Linked DNA regions of Homo sapiens: regions 1 and 2 are each linked to region 3. Evidence: promoter capture Hi-C in 16 types of primary human blood cells and fetal thymus (Javierre and others, 2016). All regions are on one chromosome and are shown on one strand. Each heading gives the region's core, a stretch centred on a gene start or on the middle of the fragment in contact. The rest is flanking DNA. Distances are from core to core; before and after follow the strand shown.

Evidence for each region. The method cuts DNA at HindIII sites, captures the fragments that hold promoters and counts their contacts. A CHiCAGO score of 5 or more calls a contact.
Region 1: a contact is called between a fragment that was not itself captured here and the fragment with the promoter of MYT1L in region 3, in 1 of 17 cell types (M2 macrophages). The highest score is 5.1, in M2 macrophages.
Region 2: a fragment that was not itself captured here is called in contact with the fragment with the promoter of MYT1L in region 3 in 1 of 17 cell types (M2 macrophages); the score reaches 5.1 in M2 macrophages.

The regions. Positions count from the first base shown.
Region 1 is chr2:2,940,632-2,944,462 of GRCh38, forward strand. The region is part of intron 5 of LINC01250 (long intergenic non-protein coding RNA 1250); the gene reads right to left. Among named protein-coding and RNA genes, the nearest start is that of LINC01250, 180 kb to the right of the region's middle. The HindIII fragment of the contact is 2,120 bases long and covers 370-2,489 here.
Region 2 is chr2:2,968,806-2,972,351 of GRCh38, forward strand. All of the region lies in intron 3 of LINC01250 (long intergenic non-protein coding RNA 1250), which reads right to left. Among named protein-coding and RNA genes, the nearest start is that of LINC01250, 160 kb to the right of the region's middle. The HindIII fragment of the contact is 3,235 bases long and covers 152-3,386 here.
Region 3 is chr2:2,329,012-2,332,936 of GRCh38, forward strand. MYT1L (myelin transcription factor 1 like) reads right to left here and starts at 2,264. Exons shown (of 25, transcript NM_001303052.2): 1 at 1,956-2,264. The HindIII fragment of the contact is 6,340 bases long and covers 1-3,814 here.

The DNA of each region.
Region 1 (3,831 bases), core at 180-2,679, 610 kb after region 3:
CAGGACACAGGGCTCGAGAGGGCCTTGGGCACTTGTCAGGGTTCACAAGGATGCCGGTGCCTGGACAGCGCTCCTCACTGGCTCTGTGCCTGGGAGACCCTCCCTCCTTCAACCTCCCTGGCTCACTGCGGATTGATCTCTCCATGGCAGCCACGGGAGACAAGCCATGAAATACAAATTGTGTCACTATATGATTCTTTGTGCAAGTTAAATCCTCATATTTACATTTAAAACTAACTTTGCACAGTATGAAGACGAAAGGTAAAATTTATGCTGATTATTCAAATTTTTGTTTTTTTATTTAGAACTGCAGTAATTATCCAATAAAAACCTGCCTTGTGAAGAGCAAGACCGTGGAAGAAAGGAAAAAGCTTACCTTTCACCGCCGTCAAAGGTACTTCACTCTCACTTTTTGAACAAGGGGCCCCACAATTTCATTGTGCACGGGGCCCCGCAAATTGCAGAGCCGGCCCTGCTCCTCAGTGCACTAAGAGGGTTACCAAATGAACCAAATGAAAGCCAAGTCTCCCTCACGCTAAACAGCTGGTAACTGGCCCCCGCCATTGCCAAATACAAGGTTTTCTCCCGGCTAACACACGCTAGCAGGAGGCTCCTGTCCCTCAACTCCAGACTCTGTACTTTGCACCTGCCTGGTCCCAAGGCCCCAAAGCTGTCAGGTCAGGGAACATCAGCTCAGAGCAAGCTCAGCCTCGTCATGGCGGCAGCGGCTCATGCTCGGATGGGCTATGCTCGGCCTGATTAGATTGGCCCAAATGCTTTAAACATCAAACGAGCTGACCCCTGACATGAGACAGGTTGATTTATTATCCTGCCGGCGCTGCTGACAGCCGACACCAGGAGCCTGGCCCTGTCTGGTGATTTCTCAAGCTCTGGGCGCATGAGCGGCCCCGCATCCTCTAGCACATCAGCCCAGGCAGCCCGCTGGAATGCTAAGGGGCTCCTACCCAGGTTTGCTTTTTAAAGAAACTCAAATGAAGAAGCCAATCACGGGCAACAAGGAAAGTCTGCTGTGTGTGCCTGGAGATACTTACGGGCCACACTAGGAAAAGCAGGCAAACCTCAGCTAGAACCTGGCTGGCAGGAGGCTGGGGGTCACAGAGGGAATGAAGCCAAGGGGTGCTCCTGTCCAAAGTCGCCCTGCTTTCCCAACTGCCTGCCCAGCCACCTCCCTCTCACGTATTTCACAATGAGAATTTATTTCAGCATTACTAATTCAGAATTTATGTTAATGCGGAGTGGAGAACAAGCTCATCTGTAACCTTCATGATGAAGAACTCAGTTGCACAGACAGCACTGCAGAGGCCATAAGCCACCTGTTTACGGCCAAGGGTGGGGACCGCCCACAGGTACCTGAGAGCCCTGTACTTCCAGGCCAGCCAGCCATGCACCCATTACCTCAGCTTCTCCACTTCTTAAACCAGGTGCAAGGATTTCTCTTCGTTAAGTGTACACGAGCCCATCCCAAGTTTCCGCACATACCCAGGTGTTGGTGAAGCCCCACTTCATTAATTCAGGCTAGCGCCCACCAACGGCTGCAGCGTCAAGCCTCTGAGACATCAGCTGTCTGCTGTGCACATGGAAGTACTCTTCCTTAGGAAAGTCCTTTCCTCTTGAGTCTCAATGTACCCAACTTTTAAGTAGGGGGGAGGGGTTCATAAAATTCATTGTTCCTGGCTCGCAGGCCATTGGGAGGATTCACAAAATGATGTGCAACAGCTTGGCAAGATGCCAAGCCCCAGGGGCTTGCAGTTGTTGATGAGGAGGAGAAATGTGCCCTCCTCCCTGCTGTGGGGCCACCTCCTAAGTCTTCCTAGTTCTGGCTCCCTTTTTCCTCTGACCATTTGCCATCACTCGTTGTGGGTGCAGATGAGCTCCTGGTCTCCGGAAGAAAGTCTAAGATCCTGAGCGACGTGGCACAAACATAGATGCAGAAGCAAAGCAAGGTTCTGTCCAGCACTCACCAGGAGCCCAGGGCTGAGGCTTTGGCTAATCAGCCTCTTCATAACTTTTTTCTCTTCATAAACATGGAGGATCTGTGAGCCTGCACCCAGTCTCAGGGCTGAAAGGGAGAAGCACATGAAAGTCCTTTGCTCTGGGCTTGAAAGTCCAATGCTTACACTCCTAGGAAGTTGATAGGAAAGTAGGAACAAGGCCACCCTGCAGAGTTTAATTAAATGTTCAAGTCTATTTAGGCACTCTAAATAGGCACAACTTTTCCTAGATTTGGGAAAGGAGTAATAAACAAAGAAAGAGGAATAGTATTCCAGAAAGACATTCGTAAAGTCCTTTTAAAACTGAAATGAAATACTCTGGAACCAGATACTCAGCCTCCAGCAGGCAGCCAGACATATATCTCCATATGGGAGACTGGAAGGACCTCCTCTTGGGACTCTGAGTCACCAAAAAGGAAAGAACCAAGAAGCTGCAGAGGCTCTGCAGGGAAGCCCACGGTTGACCAACTCTGCTCAAGCTTTCAGAACTGCCAAACTGATTGCTGACCTGTCACTCTTAATCATGAGCTGATGGTCAAGGAATTCTAGACCTCAGAGAAGTGCTCCTAACGAGGAAGCCAGTGACCAGAACAATCCAACGGGAGCAAAAGCAACCTGTAGGAAGCAGAGACTATAATGGAAAAAAGAAACTTAAGAAGGAGACATTATCATTAATAGTCACCTATGAGAGAAGATACTGCACCCATATTGCAAGAACAGGATGCTCAGAAAGAAAATATTGAGAGAACTAAAAGAGCTACTAATAATTAAAAATATAAAGGCAGGCTGGACGCGGTGGCTCATGCCCGTAATCCCAGCACTTTGGGAGGTCAAGGAGGACGGATCACCGGAGGTCAGGAGTTCGAGACCAGACAGGCCAACGTGGTGAAACCTTATCTCTACTAACAATACAAAAATTAGCCAGGCTTGTTGGCACATGCCTGTAATCCCAGATACTTGGGAGGCTGAGAAAGGAGAATTGCTTGAATCCAGGAGGCAAAGGTTGCAGTGAGCTGAGACTGCTCCATTGCACTCCAGCCTGGGCAACAGAGCGAGACTCCATCTCAAAAAAAAAAAAAAAAATGCAGATTCTGGCTTCCACTTAAAATATAGAAAGCTAGATAACATCATGCCCACCTTTACTACAATACAAAAAAAGACATATAATCCATAGAATAATATCTTTACTTGAATCCAATAGAGAGCTGAAGTCAGAGTGAAACCAGCGAACCCAGATCCTAAGGAAACAGCTGTAGGGGAGCGATGAAACTCAAACACTTGCTTTTGGTGGGCAGCATAGAAGCTAGCAAGAAGAATTCAGCTGAAAGTCTGAACAAGTTACTAAACAACAAATGTGAGCTAGTGCAAGAGTATGGAACCACTGGAAGCAAAGAAAAGAAAAAAGGAATTCACACAAATTCATAGGTTCTTTTTTTTCAGGCTCACCAAGTAACAGAGGAGGATAAATGGCAGCCATTGTGGTAAAGAGAGGAAGTGCCCCTGGAAAAAAAGACCTAAAGCTTTCTACTCCAGAATGCAAAGAGAAGACCCACTACGCCTGAAAGAGGAGCCAGAATACCTTAGGCCAGAGTGTGAGACACCTGTACTGCTGGAGAAAGGTAGGATCAGGTTGAAGACCCCAGCCCCGAGATGCAGGGACACAGGGCCTACCAGAGACTGAAGCTAACCCAGCATGGGAAGGAATGCCATCACCCTCACCCCAGCACCAGGCTGGAGGCACCCGGTAACAAGGAAATGCAGTTGACTGCTGGGGAAGAATGAGGACAAAGGGGTGCCTTTCTGAGGTGCAGATGCACAG
Region 2 (3,546 bases), core at 519-3,018, 640 kb after region 3:
TGTCATACTCTTCCGTCTTAAAAAAGAAAAGAAGAAAATCCCGACATTTGTGGCAATATGGGTAAATTTGGAGGACATTGCTATAAGTGAAATACGCCAGGCACAGAAGGACAAAGACTTCATGCTTTCACTTACATCTGGAATCTAAGAAAGCTTAACTCTTGAAAGCAGAGAGCAGATGGTTACCACAGGATGGGGTAGCAGGGAGGTGGGAAGATATGGAAGTGAGAAGTTAGGGGTCAAAACAATGTTTTAGTTAGACAGGAGGAATAAGTTTTAGTGATCTATTGCACAGCATGGTGACTACAGTTAAAAATAATGTAGTATAAATTTCAAAATTGCTAAAAGATTAGATTTTAAATGTTCTCACCACTAAAAAAAATGATAAGTAAGGTGAGGATAAGTTAGCTAGCTTGATTTAATTATTCCACAATTTATACATATATCAAGAAATCACATTTTGCCCCATAAATATATACAATTATTTGTCAATTTAAAAAAAAATCAGAAGACTCTTGCATCTCACTGTCAACTCCTTCTAGCATAAAATAACCCAAGAGGTACAACACATGGGGAAATTGGAGAGACAGTAGAGGAAGAAAATGTCTGCCCAGCCACAGAGGAACCTGAAGTTCTTTTCTTTTTTGTTTTGTTTTTCTTTTATTTTCTTTTATTGTGGTAAGAACACTTAACATGAGGTTTTCTCTCTTAAATTTTTGTGTACAATACATTAATTTTGGTTTTGGGTTTTTTAAACTGTATTGTATTTTTATTTCCATAGGTTTTTGGGGAACAGGTGGTGTTTGGTTACATGAGTAACTTCTTTAGTGGTGATTTGTGAGATTTTGGTGCGCCTATCACCCGAGCAGTGTACACTGCACCCAATATGCAGTCTTTTATCCCTCAACCTGCTCCCACCCTTTCCTCCAAGTCCCCACAGTCCATTGTGTCACTCTTATGCCTTTGCATCCTCATAGCTTAGCTCCCACACTTATGAGTGAGAATATATGATGTTTGGTTTTCCATTCCTGAGTTACTTCACTTAGAATAATGGTATCCAATTCCATCCAGGTTGCTGCAAATGCCATTATTTCATTCTTTTTTATGGCTGAATAGTATTCAGTGGTGTGTGTGTGTGTGTGTGTGTGTGTGTGTGTGTACATATAACATTTTCTTATCCACTCATTGATTGACAGGTATTTGGGCTGGTTCCATATTTTTGCAATTGTGAATTGTGCTGCTATAAACGTGTGTGGAAGTATCTTTTTCGTATAATGACTTATTTTCCCCTGGGTAGATACCCAGTAGTGGGATTGCAGGATCAAATGGTAGTTCTACTTTTAGTTCTGTAAGGAACCTCCACACTGTTTTCCATAGTGGTTGTAGTAGTTTACATTCCCACCAGCAGTGTAGAAGTATTCCCTGTTCGCCATACCCCAGCCAATATTTATTATTTTTTAATTTTTTTTAATTATGGCCATTCTTGCAACAGTAAGGTGGTATTGCGTTGTGGTTTTGATTGATAGACCATTACTGAGATTATGAAGTTGGTTTCTACGCAGCACTAGAGTACTGTGACCACGCTGAACCCTTGCCTGCACCTCTTCACTCTGCTCTTCATGTGGAACTAAGGCCCCTGTTCACAAGTGCTCCTCAGATTCAGAGAGGCTGGGCAGAGGGAATGGGTTTTGAAATAAGACAAATCTTGTGTCAATGAAAAGATGTACCACTTTCTAGCTCTGTGATTTGGGGAATTATTTCATCTCTGTGAAACTCAGATTGCTTGTCTCTAAGACAGATATAGTATCAGTAACATGATGGCCTGTTATTAAGATTAAATGTAAAAATGAATATAAAATACCTCAAAACATGCAGTATTAGTTAACTATTGCCAAAAGAACATTGCCTAACAAACCATCCCAAAACACAGTGCCTCGAAACAACAACCATCATTACTGTTCCTCAGTCTGTGGGTCAGTTGAGTGGTTCTGCTGGTCCTGGCCAGGGTCCCTCACACATCACACATTTGGGGTTAGATGGTGTTGACTGGCCAAGGATGGCCTGGGCTCTGCTCCGTGTGGTCTCTCTTCCTCCAGCATGCTGGCCTGGACTTGTTCTCATGGTCAAGGCAGAGGCATGAAAGGCTTCCTGAGACCAAAATCCAGAATGGGAATACTGTCATTTTCATCATTGCTATTGATCGAAGCAAGTCTTAAGGCCAGCCCAGAATTCCAGGGGTGGAGAAATAGTTTCCATCTTTTGATAGAAAAAGATGCGAGTAACATTAACAAAAGCATGTGCACGGGCTGGAGTGGAGAATTGAGACCATCAGAGAAACCAGTGCAGCACATGTGCCGGGCTCATGGGCATGCACATGGCTCTGCAGAGCTTCATCCCTCCCCTTGTCACCTCAGGCTGTTAACAGCCAATTACAAAAAACAAACCAATCCATGCATTCCTTTTCCCCACATGTCTTCTGACATAAGCAGCTTCACCAAAGTTACAGCAGGGGAAATGGCACTGAGAAGTGAAGATATAGACAAAAAAGTCTCCTGGAGATAGCAGAACCACAAGTCCTCGACATTAAAACTACAGGTAAAGATCACAGACTACTTCATGTTTGGACATTATTATTTTTCCAGCTATGTTCTGTAATTCACTAAATTGCTATTCTTTTTTTTAAGAGAATCCTTCTCAGTTATTACCTCTTTGTCTAGAGAAAACTTTATTTAGAAGTCCCCAAAATTAGGTCAACTATCTTATCCCAGCAAACACAATGGAGACTTTAGAAACATCATAGAAAAGAAAGAAATTCGAAGCCACCTTTCCAGCTAGGAATAAGAAGCTGGGAAGAAGCCTTCAAGGCACCACTCTGGACAGAGCAACAAGACAAGAAGCTGACTGACTGGGGCTTTTGCTTTTCTAAGAGGAAGAAGCATCTGCTGGAAGGCCCCTTGGTCCCTAGGCCCTGCCCTCCAATTTCTTCCTGGAATGCAGACAAGATGGCTGAGGTTGCAGCAGCCATGTTGAGACCATGAGGTGACAAGCATGAGGATAAAGAACCATCAAGACAGGAAACCCAAAATCCAGGAAGGCATTGCACAGCAGCTGCACTACCCCATATTACTCACCTTTGACCTGCTGCTCCATGAGAAAAGCCACCTCACTTCATTACACCACTGTCACTGGCTATCACTCACAGCTGGGCCCTTCCCTAACCAGTAAGATAACAGCTATACTTCTAGGTTGTTATATGCTTTAGATTTAGAAATAATATGCTTAAATCTTATGTCCTTAAAAAGTATGTTAGCCTAAATTAGGTATTTTTTTACAAATTAACAAGTAAAATTTCATTCATGGCCTTTGATGATTTCCAGCAAAAAATAAGCTTCATTGCTAGTCTATTATGGCCAAAGTTAACATTCTTTTAAGTTATTTCTCTCCAAATAATTTTAGAGCCTCCAAATATTTTTGTGGATGTACTTACTATGGGAAACCTACACTTGAAGAAATGATAAGATAGAATGCAAAAATTAGCAGTCTGAC
Region 3 (3,925 bases), core at 1,014-3,513:
AAGTCAGTCACTGTTGAATGCAATCGCTATCAGCTGCGGACAGCTCCTGGTGCTGAAAGGGAAGGCAGAGAAGCCTGCTCACAATAGCTCACTCCACCAGCCTTTGAAAAATCACAGCAAAACTGAATGAGGTGGCAAGTGCTCAGCCTGAATAGCACTGTCTACAGAACAATGGCAGCCAACTCTAAATCCTACTATAATCACATTAATGAGATTAATCAGTGAATTAGCAGCAGTCAAATGTCAGGGAGGCAAGGAAGAATCCAACCAAGATTGGTAATTAACTTTTTGTGGGTGGGGGTGGGGAGGAGAGAAAAATCAACTGTGCTATCTCATAGGTTTTTTTAGATGTTGATAATTTTGATTCACGAATCTGAAGACTATATGTACAGATCAAAAGACAACAACATAATCCTTCATATTATAATATAGATCCAGATCTCATATTACTGATTCTTATAGTCCTCTGAGAAAGCTGATGTCACTTTAAATAATCTTCATAATCTATCAGAATTTTATTGTTTTAAATTCTTTAAATGCACAATTAATATTTAAAATAAACTTATTTCTCTGAAAATCAAGCTAAAATATAAAGAAATATGGCTGATTAAAAGCAGAAGGATTATATAACAACTGTTATTGTTTATGAAAAGTGTATGATAGTATGGTAAGAGTTTTCAAAGTGCAATCAAGTAAAGTACCATCACACACACACATCAGTAGTGGTCTATGTTAGTTAATAAAGAAAATTTATCACTCAAGTATAACTTTAAGGAGACTTTTAAGCAATTAACTTACTGCATTTGAGGTGATAGAATCATACATGTTCTTTTAGGTCAATCAGAAAAAACAAACTTCCTTTTTTTCTGGAATGTTTCTCTTAGTAGCATTTATAACTTACAATCAACACTTTGGATTCAAAGTTCTTGAGAGGTGAAAACTTATAGGAATGCAATGCTGTTTTTTTTTTTGAAAAGGAATATTTTATAAAACTCTTTTCTTTTAAAAATAATTACATTTTTATCTGTATGGGAGACATGACTTTATTATTTTTAAAGCTACATGACACTAAATGAAGATGAACAATTAGAAAGACCCTCATATGCCAGTAAGGGTGGTTTTGGGATGCTTTGGTCTATGACGTTAATTTTGTTTAGTAGAAAATATAAACATTTGAACAAAAAGGCTCTTATATAAAATAGTTTTACTCTAAGTAACTTAGAAATTATTTAGCTTATATAGCTTTGATGGTACAAGAAATTGTCATGGTTAATACTAAATTCAAAATCTGTTCTCTATATTTTATATAGCTAACTTTCATATAAATATTTACATATATATTTTTGCTTTATTCAGATCTATCTTAAAACTAAAGTGTAGAGTTTAATCTTTTAGTTTATTAATTTAGGTGTTACAAAAAGACATATTTCTGTTATAAATAACATTTTCTTTCATTATTATGAACTTCAAACATTTAAGTTAAATTTAAAAATCTTTATTTGAGTTTCTCCACTTAAACAATATAAATCAACTTTCTTCTTACCATCAGGTAAATTCATCCAAAATAGCTAACATTTTAATTGCCTTTGCATAAAATGATGTGCTTCATTTGTAATGTAAAGTAATCCAGTAAAGTCTCTGGGAAGTTTTTGTTTCAGTATCCTCTTATCCTCCAAACACCATACATGCACCCCGTTTTGTTTTTGTTTCTTTTTTTCTTAATAAACAACATCACAGTTAAGTCATGCAACCTAATACCCATTTTAGTTTAAAGACAGATTTTTTTGTGGATTACAAAGCCTCCAGTCCAGGAACATTTCAGCTACCAGCCATGCTGTAAAAATAACTTTAAAAAGGAGCAGACAATGGAATAGCAGCCTCAGCCCTTGAGCTACGGTAAAACACATCCTGCTCACTAAGTTCCCCGAAAAATTAACCTAACGAACATCACGTACCTCACAATGACCACAACCGCTCACAAGCGAAAGACAAGTTCAATTTTGGTAACTGTGCTGGCTCAAAATACACAGACAGGGAAGAAAACCCTGTTCCACCACAAGTTTGAAAGGATGATGAGACACATGCATGCCACCAAGACGCAGAAAAGGTGGCTTTTTGTCTTCAGTGAGTATGGATATCATAACCCATAGTCCAGGGAATGAAAAAATTAAAATGCACCCACCAACAATGAGCAAAAAACCCGGGGTGCTTCAACAAGACTGCAGGGAAAAGCTCTCTCACTGTTTAGTGTGCAGTAGCTTAGGGAAAAAAAAAATGTCGCCCGGGCAGGAATGACAAATGCAGCGCGATAGGCTCGCAGGCCTCAGGGATCTGTTTGACTTCCACACACCCCCATGCACACGCTCCCACTCATCCTCTCCTAGGCTTTTTTTTTTTTCCACATTTTTTTTTCACAAGCTCCAAATCCCCGGCATATGACCTTCTGTTAAATAGATAAAAAAAAAAATTGCTTATCAGTCATGCAAATGAGGCTGAATTCATTTTCCACAACAGATGGCCTCATAGATAATGATGATGGAAGAGAGAAAATTGAATGTCTCTCACAAGGTGGCCATGGCAACCGAGAGCAGAATAATATCAATAATAAACTCACTGCATAATAAGGTTGTCAGTCCTACAAATCAAAGTCTCCAGCTAAATCAGGTATACCACCCCAGCTAGTTACCAGGTAAATAGTACACACACACACACACACACACACACACACACACACTTCCACAGAGTGGCTTGAAATCTTTCATGGTCACTGTAAAATGTGTACGTGTGTGTGTCTGTTGGTGGCAAGAAGGGGTTGGGGGAGAGAATAGTTGGATAATGAAATGACAATGTGACTTTTTTCTTTTCCTTTCCTTTCATTATGTTTTCTGCAATAGACTCGGTTTCATGCAGGACCTTCTAACTAGCCATATTGAAATCGGGATGCGGTGCTGAAGGCTTTCTCTCCTCCCTCTGCCTCCGCGCTCTCGCTCTGATGTGCTGCATTGATGCAATAGCAGCTCGCCTCAGGCTTCCACCTTGGCTCCCAGGGGGACATCCTGCAAAATGAATCAGCAGCCATCCTGAGCAGGCTGATTAAAATGAAAATGGCAAGGCACATGTCTGGGCGGAACTGGAGCTCAGCTTTGCTGCTTGTCTGGCAAGCATGCTCAATATAGCTCTTGCTAATAATGGCTTACTGCCTTTCATTTTTTAAAAAGGTATCACCCTTTTCCCCCTTCACTGACTGGTGTTGTCTGTGTGTGTGTGTGTGGTGTGTGTGTGTGTGTGCACGTATGTGTGCGTGCATGTCGCGGGGGGAAACGAGAATGGATGGTTCTATTCTTCTAATTTTCTGCTGCTCACATGCAGACTGCCTGCCTGACAGCACCATTATTTTAACACTGAACTTACTTCAGCTTTTCTTTTGGGACAGGGTGGGGGGGCGGTTGATAAGTCTTGGGGCAGAAGGGCTAGTTTTAAAATCAAGCTGCCTAAAAGGCCCAGACAAGATTTTTACACTCCAGATTCAATAATTTCTAACCAAATCTGAAGCAACAGACCTCGAGAGAACTCCGATGCTCTGCTTCACAGGCTCACAGTTGGACATGCTGAAACACAGCCTATGAAGAAACCTATTTCTGTTTCGAGCATTTGCAACCAGCCTGTTACTGTATCCTAGATATTATGCAACACAGAGAATTAAAACAGAGAAAGCTACTAGCTAATAAAATAATCGAACACAATTGAAAAAATAAATCTTGGATATTTTGTTGTTTAAAATTCTCAGGCATAGCTTCAAGATTGCCCTCAAATAAGCTTTACTTTGCAGCACCTCTGCCGAGTATTCCAGGGTTTTTCAAGGCATTCTGGAAATTAGACCATTATCACCTCTCAAAAAAATGGTTGAAAAATTAGAACGAATAAT